Regions from separate parts of the Homo sapiens genome. Here regions 1 and 3 are each linked to region 2. Evidence: promoter capture Hi-C in human tissues and cell types (Jung and others, 2019). All regions are on one chromosome and are shown on one strand. The core of a region is centred on a gene start or on the middle of the fragment in contact, and the rest is flanking DNA. Distances in the headings are between cores, read along the strand shown.

Evidence for each region. The method cuts DNA at HindIII sites, captures the fragments that hold promoters and counts their contacts. A contact is called where the count stands out against the background at its distance.
Region 1: a contact is called between a fragment that was not itself captured here and the fragment with the promoter of COPS8 in region 2, in 1 of the 25 tissues and cell types used here (mesendoderm cells).
Region 3: a contact is called between a fragment that was not itself captured here and the fragment with the promoter of COPS8 in region 2, in 1 of the 25 tissues and cell types used here (bladder).

Annotation. Positions count from the first base shown.
Region 1 is chr2:236,584,114-236,587,251 of GRCh38, forward strand. No RefSeq gene overlaps it. Among named protein-coding and RNA genes, the nearest start is that of ACKR3, 16 kb to the left of the region's middle. The HindIII fragment of the contact is 3,951 bases long and covers 1-3,138 here.
Region 2 is chr2:237,084,033-237,087,138 of GRCh38, forward strand. COPS8 (COP9 signalosome subunit 8) reads left to right here and starts at 1,857. Exons shown (of 8, transcript NM_006710.5): 1 at 1,857-2,010; 2 at 3,095-3,106. The coding sequence starts at 1,933. It overlaps COPS8-DT (COPS8 divergent transcript), which reads right to left and starts at 1,789. Exons shown (of 3, transcript NR_187934.1): 1 at 124-1,789. RefSeq lists enhancers at 903-1,797, 1,438-1,987, 1,798-2,692. The HindIII fragment of the contact is 6,775 bases long and covers 1-3,066 here.
Region 3 is chr2:237,402,784-237,406,369 of GRCh38, forward strand. All of the region lies in intron 1 of COL6A3 (collagen type VI alpha 3 chain), which reads right to left. Among named protein-coding and RNA genes, the nearest start is that of COL6A3, 9.6 kb to the right of the region's middle. The HindIII fragment of the contact is 6,379 bases long and covers 1-3,586 here.

The DNA of each region.
Region 1 (3,138 bases), core at 112-2,611, 500 kb before region 2:
CCGTGGCCTACTGTCCCAGACCCTCCGACGTCCCTGGGGTCTGCTGTCTGCAGGGGCAGGCTCCATCTCGGGAATGCTCCAGTGACTGTGTTCTTTCTGTTCCTTCTAGAAATCCCCTTCTTTGTCCTGCCTGGGGCTGGAAGACTTGCTGGTTTATTCCTAGTTATCTGGACTCAAAATCTCTTTCCTTTGATTTCCACTGCAGGGTCCTTCCCTGGAGCCAGGTGGGATAACAGAGGCTGGGTCAAGGGACACAGAGTGTCCTGAGGGGAGGGGAGTTAATACTGAAAAAAAAAAAAAAATCAGCCCCACCCTATGACTGTGGTGTAGAAGAGGCAGAGAGAATCCTGAGCTGTATTTGGATATGGGGTGGGCCTTGAAGGGAGGAGGGGTGGACAGGAGACCCCTGGCTCTCCTCAAATCCAGGGACTAGAGGGCCTGCAGTGCTGCCATTGGAGGGTCATTCTTTGGCGTCCTTTTCTCTGTACAGATCTTCCAAGACACCCGCCTCCTGATGTGGTAAGAAAGCTGTTAGCGCCATGACCTTGGACCCCAGGAAGGATGTCTGGAGCCCCAGGCACAGGGTGGGACCTCAGAGTTGGGAGAAAAGCAGCTTTGGCTTTCTTGATGGCGCTTCCTGGAGCCTCCTCCCATCCCAGGCTCTAATACTCTGCTCCTGTTTCATGGTTGAAATGCCCAAGGCATGGCGGGCGGTGGGCAGCGGAAGGCCACCCCCAGCAGCCCGGATGGCAGCCCGTCATCAGTGAGTCAGTGTTAAATGCTTTCCATCTGGTTCAACGTATGAGCTGCTGACCTTGATTGTACCCCAGGTTCCCCACAAGTGAAGAAGAAAAATAATGCCGCTGAAAAGCCCAGATGGAAAATCATCTGAGCACAAGGGAATACGATCTATTTGCTGGCTGATGGCTTTTGGTCCTTCCAAGAGTCTCGCAGCAACCTGGGATGGGACCCCACTGATATCTGTGGTCAGATCTGGGCAGAGCAGCAATACATTTTAAATCTTCTGTAGCCGATGCTTCCTGGGGCCTCTCCAGGAGGCAGCAGCTCCGGGGCATGGTCTATTTTATTAGGAATGTGGAAATTCTGCCTTACTGGGCTTCTACTCTGAGGATATTGGCTGTATATATGTAATGGATCTGGGAGACATCACATTTAGGTAAGCACAGGTGTCTCAGAACTCTGGGGAAAAGTGGCGTGCTGTGGATCTGTACTGTTGGGATGGATGGCTGAGGAAGACAGCAGAGAAAGTTCCCAGAGCTTTCTCCTGGAGGTATGAGCTTTTGCCCCTAAGTGCCAGGGATACCTCTGCATGGGCCTATGCCACTGAGATTTTAGTCCTTCAGGGGCAGTGGTTTCAGGTGGGCTAAATGCTTTAAAAGATCGACCCACCGCTATAGAACATTTCCCACTTCCTGTTTCTTAGTCTTGGATTTCCCAGGAAAAGCTCCCTGGTGGTTTGCATTTATGCAGGGACTGCTAAGATCCCACAGTCTCGATATCAATGACATTTGATATGGAACACGATTAGTTTGAATGAGGTTTGATAGGACATTAAACCACTCGAAAGTGGTTGAGATTTATGGTGGTTCGTTTGCCCTGAGGATGGCTGAGGACGGCCTGACTCTTCCATAAACTCTTCTGGCAGAGTAGCAGAGTTTGCTCACCTCGTGCAGTCTCTGACGCTCACACAGACCTGTGCATACACCTAGACTTGCTACCATCTGTGTGACCAACACACACTCCTGGACACAGTTTCCATGTGCATGTTTAGGACCATCCTAGCGAGAGCCTGGGCCACAGGGTTGAGATCCGCCTTCTCAAAGTCTCAGGCCTCTGCCAAGTGTGTAGCCCAAAGAACCATCACTGTTTACTATCCTGGGGAATGTGGGCCAGGTTTTAGCTTTGCTAAACTTAGCTTCCTTGTTTATAATGTTGGACGATGATAGTACTTGATTCATAGGGTAATCGTAATGATCAGATCGCACAGTCTCTGCAAAATGCATGTCACGGTGCCTGGGGCACACATAGTACATGCTCAGAGAACAACAGCCATTCTGACCACTTTCTCTGGGCATAATTTGCATTTTTCTTGAGAAGAAACAATGCATTTCAGAGAAATCGGGCAAGAGAATATCTGCCTGTGGGTGGTGAGTGAAAAGATGAGGCACATCTGTCTCAAACTCATTCTAACTGGGGACAATTTGCACCCCCAGGAGACATTTGTCAATGTCCAGAGATATCTTTAGTTGTCCCAACTTGGGGTGGGGAATGCTAATGTCATCTTGTGAGTCAAGGCCAAGAATGCTGCTGAACAGCCAGTTGTGCACAGGAGAGCCCCCAGACAGAGAATTACTGATATGGCTTGACGGTGTCCCCACCCAAATCTTATCTTGAACTCTAGCTCCCATAATTCCCACATGTTGTGGGAGGGACCTGGTGGGAGATAACTTGAGGCAGCTGGTAGAAAAGCAGCTTTGGCTTTCTTGATGGCGTTTCCTGGAGCCTCCTCCCAATCATGAGGGCAGTTTCCCCCGTACTGTTCTTGTGGTAGTGAATAAGTCTCATGAGATCTGATGGTTTTATATGGGGTTTCCCTTTTCACTTGGCTCTCCTTCTCTCTTGCCGGCCACCATGTAAGACATGCCTTTCACCTTCCACCATGATTGTGAGGCCTCCCCTGACATGTGGAGCTGTGAGTTCATGAAACCTCTTTTTCTTTATAAATTAGTCTCCGGTATGTGTTTATCAGCAGTGTGAAAACAGACTAACACAATTACTGAGTCCCAAATGTCAACTGAGTGGAGGTGGAGAGACCCTGGCCTAGGATAAAGCCAACCATTAAGACACAAGACTTCTGGATGCCATTCACTGCCTAGGGAGTTCACTGAGGGTACACAGAGCACCTGGGGAAAAGCATCTGAGTCCTTAGAGCCATGGCTTCTCCATTTCCTGCCCCTCAACTCAGCAGAACCCTAACAGGCCAGGGCAGCACAGACAATCATGCAATGTGGATTCACGCCAGCATCTCCACTGTGCCCAAATATGTTTCAACTACAGGAATTTGGGGCATTTGCCATTTACATAAAAGATGTACTCCTGAAATAGGAACACACAAAT
Region 2 (3,106 bases), core at 607-3,106:
GAAGCATGAAGAAACCATATTGTATGAGTCATGGTTCTCTAGAGGGACAGAACTAATAGGATATATATATTTATATATATATATATAGAGAGAGAGAGAGGAGTTTATTAAGTATTAACTCACATGATCACAAGTCCCACAATGGGCAGTCTTCAAGCTGAGGAACAAGGAGAGCCAGTCCAAGTCCCAAACTGAAGAACTTGGAGTCTGATGTTCGAGGGCAGGAAGCATCCAGCGTGGGAGAAAGATGTAGGCTGGCAGGCTAGGCCAGTCTCTCTTTTCGCATTTTTCTGTCTGCTTTACATTTCTAGCTGCACTGGCATCTGATTAGATGGTGTCCATCTAGATTAACAGTGGGTCGAACTTTCCCAGCCCACTGACTCAAATGTTAATCTCCTTTGGCAACACCCTCACAGACACACCCAGGATCAATACTTTGCATCCTTCAATCCAATCAAGTTGACAGTCAGTATTAACCATCACTCATATCATATATTTTCTTATTCATGCACTTCTTTATATTAGACACCTGATCATGCCAAAAGGCCAGTCCATAGTTCTTTTGCTTTTCAGTCCTTCCTTACGCATCGGTGAGTCCCAGGTCGAGAGTAGAGGTAGAATTCGTGCACGTAAAGTGCGATGAAAACGGGCAAGTTCACTTTGTGCAGCATCTGTTTTTACCAGCGTGGTTCTGGTAAAAACAAAATCTATATGCATGTATAAGCTATGAAGTACAAATTGCATAATTTCTGTGATTCCACATATGAGATCAGTGCACTTATATTAGTATTTAAAACTGGCATTGCACAACGTAAAGATGGATGGTGAACTTCATGCTAACAATTTAAATCTAAATTTTTCTTGGAATGATATTAAATAACACATAAAAACACTATGAAAAGAGAGAAACTGAGAGGAAAGAGAAAGTTTTATATTTTATGACCTCAGAGGCACTTTCTTTCTGTTTTTTGAACAAGGAAGCTCCGCACTTTTCTCTGAGCTCCACAAATTATGCAGCCAGCCTTGCAGCAGGCAACACATCAAAGCCTCTTTCCTGGGGGTCTAGTGAGGGATGTAAAACACAAATATGTTAATAATATACAATATAATGTCACTAACAGTAAGTGCTGTGCTAAACAAAAGCCAGGATGGCTACAGCAAGCCGGAGGGGAGCTGAGAATTAGATGTAAATTCTGAGGGATGGGAAGGGCCCTAGATTTTAGGGCGTTGTGCAGAAGAGTAACCAGATCTGCTCTACGTTTCAGGAAAGGAAAAAAAAATTCCCTCTGGCTGCGGTTCCGAGAATAGCCTGGAAGGAGGCAGGGGTCCCGGCTGGAGAAGCGTGGCTCCGGGGTGGGGCGTGCAGGGCTAGCCCGGGCGGGGGACGCTGCCCAACAAGCAGGTTTGCGGAGACTCACACCTTAGATTCTGAGTTTTTAAGCTTGTTTCCTCAGAGCAGGGAACTCACGAACGTTTCGTGAGCACCTACGGTATGCAGGGTACGGTGCGGAGCCCTAGCGTCACTGACGACCGGGACAGCCGAGCAGCTGCAGGATCCGTCGTGTTCCCCAGCAATTTTAATATTTAAAAATTCGTTACTGTTGCTGTTACTTGTTTTCTATGTATTGGATGTCTTCGTGAAGAACCCTCAAAAGTGCAACGAACTCCTCCCTGCCAGAGGGCGGCCGCGCGCTCTGAGTACAGCTTCCCGCGGAGCCGGCCAGGTCCTCCAGGGCACCGAGAAAGCCGGCCAGAACGGCGGCGCCCTATCCCGGCCGCAGCGATGTCTGACGGCGCCCCGGAACTGACGGTCTGGTACGCAGGGGCGCTCGGCGGCAACGGCGGCTTTAAACGTCATCGCGGGCGCGACGCCTGAGGGACAGTCTGGGGTTTGGCTGTCCGGACGGTGCAGCGGCGAGGCCGGCCGCGAAGATGCCAGTGGCGGTGATGGCGGAAAGCGCCTTTAGTTTCAAAAAGTTGCTGGATCAGTGCGAGAACCAGGAGCTCGAGGTAACCCTTTGCGTCGCGCTGGGAGAAACTGCGGAGTAGTCTTAGGCCCTGGGGCGGCACCAGTTTCCAGGGTAACGGGGTCTGAGGCTAGCGGGCTTTGGGAGCTCACGGGGCGGGCGTGGGAGGTGGACGTGTGGATCCCTGACCGCCGCAACCTGCTCCGACCGGGCCCGGTCTCCCCGAACTCGCCGGGACCTTTTTGTTATGTGTCTTCAGCTTGTGAGCCCGAAAACCCTGTGCGTCTTTGCTCCAGCACCTACCGATGAGCTCATATTAATTAGGCATCTTTCCTTCCCAGTATCGGGTTGGGAGAGGGTAGTAAAGTGGGTTTTATTAAAGATCTTGGTATACACACACACACTAACACACACACCGCAACTCACACGCACACCAAGAAAAATGTGACCATTGTAACCTTTTTTTAACTCACAAAGCCTTTCTCGTAATGTTGTCAAGTTAGCTTGCCATTTTGTCTTCAGTAAGACAGATGAAAGTTATGCAGCTGTTAAAGTTAATGTTTTTCTTAGACACTTAAAAAGGGTTTATATCATTAGTTTTAAAATTAAATAAAGGAGACAACATCCAGAAGCAGCAGCTCACTAATAGATAATAGATACTTTCCAGTTGAGTTAAAATGGAAAGAATTGTCTTTGCAACGCAGCTGTGGTGATTTTCTGTCTCTTATTCAGGACGCTTGATGTAATGGGCAGAATCAGAATGCTTCAGGAATCTGTCGAATTTGTTTCTTATAATAGTAAGATCATTTAAATGGGAATTTGAGAACTGGGGAAGGGGATCCACTTACATATTCTTGAATGTATAAAGAAACTGAAGCCCAAAGGGAGATAAATCAAAGCTGATGACGAATATAAACTTAATACTCAGAATTTTCGTGTTTGATACTTCTCTAAGCTGTTTCTAAATCTATAATAGGACTATAAGATTACTTATAGTCTTAGACTAAAAAGGCTTACTTTTAAAATTAGCATTTATAAAATATTATTTTAAAAATGAAAGTTAAAGGGTAAATGAGGTTTTTAAAATTTTGTGTTGTTTTGTTTTGTTTTCATTTTTGGCCTTCTAGGCCCCTGGAGGA
Region 3 (3,586 bases), core at 577-3,076, 320 kb after region 2:
TTGGAATCGGCTCCACCCAAGGCCTGAGCTTTTGTATCTCTATCTTAATCTTCCTCTCTCCACAGGTGCCCCCATGGGCTCTGCAAGTCTTCATGGTTGTCTGTTGTGTAGCACAGGAATTCCATTTTCCCCATACAGCTAATGAAATCAGGGATGAGGATGATCTAATGTTCTCAGCCTTGCCACCTGAAGATTGATAGCAGAGGAGAGTCTGTCCGGCTGATGAGTGATGTAACTTTGCCATGAATGGAGCAGCAGACTAGTGTCCAGATGGACCACTTAGCAAAGGTACAGGGAGAGCCACAGAGAGTGATTGAGGCTGCCAGTCAAGGACAGGAGCTAAGTGGGTGCAAAGGAAACCTGAAGCTCAGTCCCGTGGATTTGCCGTGAAATTCCTCCTGCCTGAGGTCAGGCCCAGAGGGAGAAGCTGGAGTCCAAATCTTGCGGCCCAGCTATGAGGAAGACGGAACACAGTGTGGGCCCTAGGCCTGACCCGCCAAAAATTGGTGAGATGGAGACAGATGAAGCCACAAACAAGGGAATGAACACCAGGACCCATGTGGCTTTGGATTTCCAAAGAAAGTCAACAAAAAGTACCACCTGTGATGAAACAAATGTACCCTGTGATTCAGATTCTGAGAACTTGAAGCCATGATCTCAGCAGCTAAAATAGAACCACCTGTCAATACAGCAGTCTCTTGGAAATGCATCAACAGTGAGAAAGGAATGCTGTTCTAATGATGCTCAGGAGGCCAGTTATCAACAGAACAGATATTTTTCTGCAACAAAGTGACAGCAATGAGTGGTGATAGCGGCAGTATTGCAAAAGCTCAGCCCGATTTTTTTTCCCTTGCAATGGTCACTGCCTTTTGGACATGGATATATGTTAACACAATGTAGAAGAGCAGTCTCCAGTGCTTGTGCTGTGGTTTGATAATGCTCCCAAGCTTTAGCCCGGTCGCAGCACAGCAGGGCTCAGGGACCCCCGACAGGCTGGACTGCCTGTTCTCCTCCCTCCACTTAGGTTGACCCTACCCCCACCGTGCCACAGCCCCAACTTTGCCCCTTCACTCTCTAGGAATCCCTCAAGCCCATGCAACCCTGGGAACCTTCCAGACTTTTCCACCAAGCTCTACCTTTCTTCCCTACAGTCTGTTAGACCCATTCCTGAGTGTTTCTTCAAATAAAAAAAAAAAGCAATTGCAATATCTAATTTTTTGTATGACCTCAATTAAATAATGATATACACTTCAGAATAATATAAAAGTACATTTTATATGTGCTATTCTTGATTCGTTCTATCAAGCTTGAGCGTCAATTTTTTTTTAGCAAAGGTAAGCTTCCTGCTAGATTCTTTCTAAGAAAATGGCCTGTTCTTTCCAAAACAACCTGTATTATTGTAACTGGTCCAGATCAATGTTTTAATACGGGATCAACAGATTCAAAGAGTCTATGATCCTCCCACAGTTGAGTGCAAAATTGCATCTATGGATGAGGGTTTTTCTGGAGATAAGGGTCCATGTTTGTATGTGATTCTAAAAGGCAGTTGTGCCACTCCTCACCCCCCAAAAGTTTAAGCATCACTGCTTCAATTAAAAATTTTAATGCAAATCTTCTGGAAGATCCAGTTCGATTACTTTAAATGTTTAATCCATGTTCAAGAGGCATGATTTTAAGTGGTATTTTTGTTTGTGAATGAGAACACAAGAGTATTATAGAGGCTCTTTGTAAAGCATTCGGCTTTGTAATCCAGGTGGAAAAAATAGGACATGATAAGATGAGAGCTGTCTCCTCACTGTTGAGTCTGGGATGGGAAGAGCTGCAGACACCTGTGCAGGGAGCATTGACAAAGAGCACAAGTGAATTATGCCTTGAGCAGGTTTTGCTAATGGTTTTCTTAATCATTCCCATACCTCACACAGTGAAAGCCTTTGAATCCACTGATTCTGTCACATATAAAGCATTGAGTGGGCTCACTCTGGAGCAATTCCAAAATTACATTTCTCATCTTCCAGAGTGCTCAATACAATCTAAATAGTTACAAAATAAAATCCGGGAAGTCTAAGACATCACTCACTTACTTCAACCATTCTGAGTAAAATGAACTTTTAGTTCATTGAAAATCATATGTAAAGATTTTTATTTTCAAGATGTGAATCTTTGGAGGAGTAGCCCCCTCAGTGGAGATACTTCCCATTGGAACACAAAGTAATGGGATAAATACACTGTGCACAGGAATTATTTTATCCAGAATATATCCAGATATTGAGGGAAGAGGAGGGGAGGGAAGAGAAGGAAAGGAGCCCTTCCAGCTCTGAAAAGGACGGGAGATAATGCCTGTAGGACAATGCGTTATCCAGGCTCCACTGATGATTCAGAACCCATATGGTTTGACTGAGCTGAATTCCCAGGTGGGAAAAACGCCTTTGGCCCCACACACTTTCCTGCCATCATGCGGGAAGCAGGTCTTGTGGCTCGTGGGCTCCTAGCCCAGCTGTTGAATATTTGCTGATATTTTCGTTTGCAATTAACTCTCTTCTATTGTTTGTCATGTCCTGGAGTCTCCATTTATAAAAAAACGAAATTCCCTGGCAGCAAATTTTGGAGAACTTTTTCATTTAGATTATTAAAAGATGTCAAACACCATCTCACCAGATGACCACCCGCCCTCTTCAACAAGAGGGAATGAGGCAGCCATCCGCGCTCATTCCCCGACACCACCCTCCCGGAGGAAGGAGAGAGGAGAGTGCTGGTAACGTTTCCTGGGCTTCTGTCTTGTGGGTGGGATTTCACGCCCTCCTCCCAACCATCCGATGGCTGATTTCCCTCCATTTTATAGCTGAGAAATTGAAACCCCAGCAAGGCAAAGTGATTGTTCAAAGCTACATAGATAAAAACAACATAGAACCAGAACCCTAACCCAAGTTAGCATTTCCAAAGCTCATGGGAAGAACCCCGGGAAACCCTAGAGGCTGTGCCAGATTTGGCCCAGATCTCAAGGAAACTCCCCATGCCTTTTGGGGAAAAAATAGACTTCCTTGGTGGTGACACACCACAGATTCTATGTCAATGGAAGTCGGCTGTCTACTATCATTCTTTCAAATATGAAAAAAAGACTCAGAATTGGCTGCTTGAGATCCTTGGGCTGGAAGGGGTCTGTTCCTTCATCCTAGATTCTGTGTCCTAAAGGAAACAGATTCAATAAGAGACATTCATCACATTTTCATTCTCATCTTTCTGTTTAGGATTATTCATCTTTTTGTTTACTCTGCCTCATTCTAAAAAGGATTTGAGGTGCCTTTTTCCGTTTAGTTTCTATCCCTTTGAAATTTAAAAGGATACCTTTCATCAGAAAGATTGCCCTACATGGCCCTTCAACCTGAAATCATATTCAATCATATTCCAATGAATATGATTTCCCAAGCTATTTTGCAATTCTGTAAATTAGTTTTCATTTAGCCTACTCAAAACCTTTTTCATTTTCCATGTCTGGAAATCTTTTTTAAGAAAGAGACACACACGCATGCACACAAGGAAATAGTTTGAAAACAAAGACTCAAATAAATCCAGAGCTTCCATTTTGAAG